2 separate regions of the Homo sapiens genome follow, and region 2 is linked to region 1. The links are contacts of gene promoters, found by promoter capture Hi-C in human tissues and cell types (Jung and others, 2019). All regions are on one chromosome and are shown on one strand. The core of a region is centred on a gene start or on the middle of the fragment in contact, and the rest is flanking DNA. Distances in the headings are between cores, read along the strand shown.

Region 1 (3,022 bases), core at 136-2,635:
CAGTGCCTGGCACACAGGTGGAACTCGGGAAATATTTATTTGAAATACCAACGGAAGTCCACAGCACATATGACCTGGTGATCAGTGGTGGGAGGTGAATGGGTCAAGAAAGACACCAAGATTCCCTGCTCATGAGTGAGAGTGTGGGGAAACAGAAGAAGTCAGGGTGACCTTGGTGAGCACTGCCCTGGGGGACTCGAGGATGGATGAAAGCAGGGAGGAGGCCAGATTAGGTGGGGTAGAGGACCTGAGGTCCATCAGCAAAGGCCATCCCTGGGGACAAAGAGAGGAGGGGAAGAGTAGGTCTGGGCTGGAGAGAAGGAATCTTTTCTCTGAGTTCCTGGGGACCCCAGAGGGAAGGGCAGATGTGGCCCCATTCCCAGAAGCCTTTATAAAAGAGGGTGGGGAGGTCAGGCCTTGGCAAGGACAAGGGAAGGAGTCCCTACGTGCTGGATTGGGATTGGCTGGAAAGGGGACTTCTCTGGGAGAATCCCTCAAACCTCAAGAACTGAGAGAAGGGTGTCTGGGGCTCCTGCCACCATCCCTGTTTCCCTTTTAAGTAATCTGTTTCCCCATCTGTCCATCCATACACACAGCCACTTGTGTCTCCATGACCAACCGCTGGCAGTGGAAGGGTGTCCTTCCCACCCCCACTCTTACACACACTCCCAGCTGGTACCCAGAGCCTGGTCACCCCAGGCCAGGCCTGTGTTTCCAGGTGTAACGGGCAGCAGACGCTGCCCTAGGACTAGAGCAGGGAGGGGGCACGGGCCCACCCCAACCCACAGCGACCCACAGAGGGCGAAAAGAGGACGACCGCAGAGAGAAACGGAAAGGACAGGCCAACGGAAGCAGTACTGCAAGGCTGGAAGGAGAAAAGCCAGGAGGGGAGTGCTTGCTGTGAAAGACAGGGAGACAGAGACCAAGACGGACAGGCAGACAGGCTGGTGACCCAGGATGAGGCCGGAAAGAGCCATCAAAGGAAGGAGAAGGAAGGAGAGAGATTGGAGCGGGACGGCGGGGCAGGCGAGGGAAGGAGGGGGTGGGGAGAGGGAGGGAGGAAGAGAGGGGAGAAAGAGGGAGGAAGAGAGGGGAGAAGGAGGGAGAAGAGAGCGGGAGAATGCGAGAGGAAAGAAGGGAGAGGGGAGGCGTAGAAGGGGAGAGGAGGTGAAGGGAAAAGGAGAGAGCCTGCTGGCGGCGAAGCTGCAAGAGGCAGCTGCGGAGGGAGCGCGCGGCGGGCCTGGGGGAGCGCTGGGCGGGGGCGGGCGGTGCGGGCAGGGCTATACCCGAGCTGGGCGGGCTCCGGGCGCCGCGGGCCCTGCCCTCCCCCTCCATCCCTCCGGACTCGCTCCCCCCTCCTCTCCCTTCCCCGCGACCCTCCGCCCGCCCTCGGAAGACCGAGACAGCGGAGAGGTTGCGGGTGAGCTGCGCTGAGCCCAGGAGCCGAGGAGTCGGGAGCGCAGTAGCGCTGAGCCCGAGCCCGAGCGGCCCCGCGTCCCGAGCGCATCGGAGCGGCCGAGCCGCCCGGATGCAGCGCCTGTCCCGGGCAGCGCAGCCCCGGCCGCAGGTAGGAAAGGGCGGCCGGCGTCGGGGCGCGGGGCGCAGAGCCTGGGATAACGGCGCAGGAACGGCCAGAGCCCCGAGCCGCTGCCGCGAGCCGGGCCGGGTGGGGGGCGGACACCTCGAGATTCAAGCCCCCGCGCCGCACCTTCCCTGAGCCACATGAAGGAGCAGAGGCGCCGCTCGGACCCCGACGTGCGCCCAGGCCATCCGTCCCCTGGGACACTCGGGAGGCAGGAGGGCTGGAACAGAGGCGAGAGTTGCATGCCCCTTCCCTCCCGCGGTGCCCCACTGGCCCCGCAAGTTGGCACTGGATTCTGCTGGAGCCGTCGAAGCTCCCTATTCATTCCCCAGGGCATGGAGGGGACGCGGAGTGAATGACACGAGCAGCGTTGGGGGGCCGTGCGCCACTTTCCCAATCCTGGGGTCAGCTGAGCCGAGTTAGAGCTATGCCCCTCATTTGTTCTCTGCGGGCTACGGCGGGGTCGGGTGCGACTTGAGGATGGGACGTCTCTGGGACAGCCCGAGCTCTCAGAAACGTTGGCTTAAAAGCACACCGGGGCTTGGGCTGAGTGCACCGGAGCTAAGCCTAGTGCACCAGAGCTCGCGCCGCGCTCTCCCAGCCCCGACTTTCTCCAAGAGATGTGGGGTGCGGGCGGTCCCTTAGAGGGCTGGAGGACGGTGCCTCCTTGCTGCTTCGGGAACTGCGCTCCCCTTCTTGCTTTTGGTCTCTGCGTGTACTCCCCGGCGCGACACCGCTCACCACGGTAGCCTCGGGCAGTGCCCATTGGGTTCTGAGCACACGTCCCCACGGGTGGCACCCACAGATGTCCTGTTCTAGGCTTGGCTCGGTCTTCAGACAAGAAACTCAGACCGGGCAGTCCCCTATTGAGGCTCTGAGCTAATATCCTCCCAAAATAGACATGAACCACAAGGAGAATTTTTTAAAAGCCAAATGATAACACCACGTTCTTTCCGGATGTGGGGCTGGAGCGCTCATTCCCTTTCCCAGGAAGCTCAGCCTTATCCCCATGAAGAGCTGGGGGGGCGGGGAGGGCGGGAATAAAATGGCTCCTGAGATTTGTGACACCCCAAAAATCAGAGACGGTATCAGACTGAGTGGCATTGGGGGTCTACCTTTGTTTTTCTATGACACACAAGGTGGGTGTTTGGCAAGAGAGTAGGGATGTTGGGTGCTGGATAGTGCCTAGATTCTGTGTCTTTGGGAACTTTGGGGGAAGTGTCCTCCTAAGGGAGCCAAAAAGGCTGCTACCCCAGTCCCCCAAATTCCAAAACAAAAGAGGTCAGTGAAAGCTACTCGCATTTTGCATGTTATCTCTTTATCTTTGGAGCACATTGGGAAGGACTGACCCAGCTCCAGATCAGGGTCTGATTGGGGCAGGACAGACCCTCTCCAAGGCAGAGAAGGGGAAAAAGAACTTGCCCTTAGAAGTGGGAGTCC
Region 2 (3,022 bases), core at 142-2,641, 36 kb after region 1:
TCCAAGGTGCCCAGATTTCATATTGTTTAAACAATTTGTGCAGTTAATGCAATCATCACAAGGTCCTGTGGCAACATTCATCCTCAGCTTACAAAGATGATGGGATTAAGATATTAAAGTAAAGACGGGCATAGGAAATCACAAGAGTATTGATTGGGGAAGTGATAAGTGTCCATGAAATCTTCACAATTTATGTTCAGAGATTGCAGTAAAGGCAGGTGTAAGAAATTATAAAAGTATTAATTTGGGGAACTAGTGTCAATGAAATCTTCACAATCTATGTTCTTCTGCCATGGCTTCAGCCGGTCCCTCTGTTTGGGGTCCCTGACCTCCCGCAACACTTTGGCTCAATTCAGACATGTTCATCACCATACTACAAAGACCACTAAATCCATGCTTTTGTCTCAGCTCCAAAAATGTTCTCGCCAAGTGGGCCATGCCCACTCTGCTCACCACACAGTCATCAATGCCACAGAACCCAAGGAAAACCCCAGACAGCCCTTCGCTGCACAGCCAGGCAAGCAGCCAACAGGTGGAACCCACTGTATGCAGGGCAGAGGCCCCTGAGGCTCATGGAGGCCACACGGCTGGTCCCTTGAAGAAGTGGGCTGGTTCCGTGAAAGGAGCATTCTCTGCTCCGGTTCTAATCTCCCCTTCAAGGGCAGCCACCATCTCGTTTCTCTGCAATTCCCCAACCATTCCCCCACCCCCATCCGGAGCCAGACCCAGGGAGGTTACAATCTCTTTCCTTCTCATTCCGAGATTTCCTGATCTCTTAGACACCCCCACCAACTACTCAAACACAATACATGCCAAACAAGGCTCCAAAGCCTTCTCCTCCACCATGCTCCCCATCACAGAAGGGTCCCATGGTCCAGTGCCCAGGGTGGAGACCTCAGCATTGTCCTGGACTCTTCCCTCACCCTCATCCTGCAAACCAGCCAATACCAGCACCTGCCCCTCCATCCCCTACATATCTCTCTATCTGGTTGCCTCTCTGCACCTGCACTATCCTCACTACTGGCCAAGCCATGCCATCCCCCATCGAGATGATGGCCACAGCTCCTCACTGGTCCTCTTGCCTCTGGGCACAATTACTATGGCCCCACATCCCCCACCCTCTTTCTGCACCTGGAAAAAGGGGCTGAAAACACTCACTCAAAAGGTTACTCTGAAGATGAAATGAAATAAGGCTTAGAAAATGGGCAGTGTGCTGGAAAGGCTGTAGGTGATGAGTACCTTTTATTTTTCTTCTTTTTTGCACTTCTCTGTTCAGGCCCCGGGCTGGCGTTCCTGGCATACCCAGAGGCGGTGACCCAGCTGCCTATCTCCCCACTCTGGGCCATCCTCTTCTTCTCCATGCTGTTGATGCTGGGCATTGACAGCCAGGTGAGGGCGCCCCCCCCGCACCCCAGGAGCTCTCCATCCCCAGACTCCTCAGTCCCCGAGTAAACAGGGAGAGGAGGCAACTCTTAGGCTGCCAAGAAGATGACCAAAAATTCCAGGTCCCTAGAATGTTCCACTGCATGAAATTTCAGGAAACAGCTCAGCCACCTTCTCCATTTTCCAGAAGGGGAAACTGATGCCCAGAGGGGAGGGACTCTCCTGAGGTCACAAAGTGAGTCACAGGCAGAATCAGGCTGGACCCTGGGCTCTCCTGGCTCGGTGCTGCTGGGCCTCCCGTCCTTCCTTAGAGGGCCAGGCTTTGGGTGGGTTGGGGCTGGGGCTGCTGCAGGTGGCTGACCTCTGTTCCCACCTGAAGTTCTGCACTGTGGAGGGCTTCATCACAGCCCTGGTGGATGAGTACCCCAGGCTCCTCCGCAACCGCAGAGAGCTCTTCATTGCTGCTGTCTGCATCATCTCCTACCTGATCGGTCTCTCTAACATCACTCAGGTAAGCTCAGTAAGCACCTGGCACTCCCCCAGCACTGCCCAGGGCCATGCCCAGGGCCTCCTCTCCCCTCCTCTGTTGTATCCCACCTTTCCTGCCTTCATTGAGCATCATCTCTGTGCCAAGCTCTGGGCACATAACAGTGAGTCAGATGGGGTCCCTGCCCTCCAGAGGCTCCCAGGCTGGTGGAGACACAAACATTGAGCTAAGACATATAGGACAGAGCTAGAGAATGCAGCACCTAACTGGACTCGGAGCACCAGGGACTGCTTCTTGGAGGAGGGGATGTAGAAATTGAGCTTTGAAAGGCCCACAGAAGGCCTGGCATGGTGGCTCATGTCTATAATCCCAGCACTTTGGGAGGCAGAGGCCGGCGGATCACCTGAAGTCAGGAGTTTGAGACCAGCTTGGCCAATGTGGTGAAAACCCGTCTCTACTTAAAAAAATAAAATAAAGTAAATAAATAATACAAAAATTAGTCAGGCATTGGGGCAGGTGCCTGTAATCCCAGCTACTTGGGAGGCTGAGGTAGGAGAATTGCTTGAACCCGGGAGGCAGAGGTTGCAGTGAGCTGAGATCGCGCCATTGCACTCCAGCCTGGGCAACAAGAGCGAAAAACTCTGTCTCAAAAAAAAAAAAAAAAAAGAAAGAAAGAAAGAAAGACAGAAAAAGAAAAGAAAGGCCCACAGAAATTAGCCAGAAAGTCAAATTGGAGTTGAGCCTTTGAAGTTGACACTGCCCAAAGCTTTCTTTCATTCCCATTTTTCTTTTGTATTGACATGAATGAGAAATGCTCACATAGCTGGTGAATTGTGCAATAAATATAAACGACTCTAGCAACATGAGTTCAGCACTGCGGGTCTGATTTTTATAATCCACAAATCACCCCCACCCCCCCCCCACCAGATCCAAATGTAGTTCTGCTCCAGAGTTAGTATTCATTCATCCCTTCATTCATAGTTGTCAAATACCTACTATGGGCCTGGCATGACCCCAGAAATTTGGCAATTAATGTGGCAGATACTACCATGTCTGCTGTCTTGGAGCTTACATTTTGGTGGACAAGACTGACAGACAAATTAGATGATTTTGGAGAGTGTCAAGTGCCCTGGAGAAAAGAGGACAGCAGCA

What was found. The method cuts DNA at HindIII sites, captures the fragments that hold promoters and counts their contacts. A contact is called where the count stands out against the background at its distance.
Region 2: a contact is called between a fragment that was not itself captured here and the fragment with the promoter of SLC6A1 in region 1, in 2 of the 25 tissues and cell types used here (aorta and spleen).

The regions. Positions count from the first base shown.
Region 1 is chr3:10,991,363-10,994,384 of GRCh38, forward strand. SLC6A1 (solute carrier family 6 member 1) reads left to right here and starts at 1,386. Exons shown (of 16, transcript NM_003042.4): 1 at 1,386-1,567. RefSeq lists an enhancer at 1,706-2,230. The HindIII fragment of the contact is 17,540 bases long and covers 1-3,022 here.
Region 2 is chr3:11,027,459-11,030,480 of GRCh38, forward strand. It overlaps SLC6A1 (solute carrier family 6 member 1), which reads left to right. Exons shown (of 16, transcript NM_003042.4): 11 at 1,277-1,389; 12 at 1,763-1,894. Among named protein-coding and RNA genes, the nearest start is that of SLC6A1-AS1, 9.7 kb to the left of the region's middle. The HindIII fragment of the contact is 7,309 bases long and covers 1-3,022 here.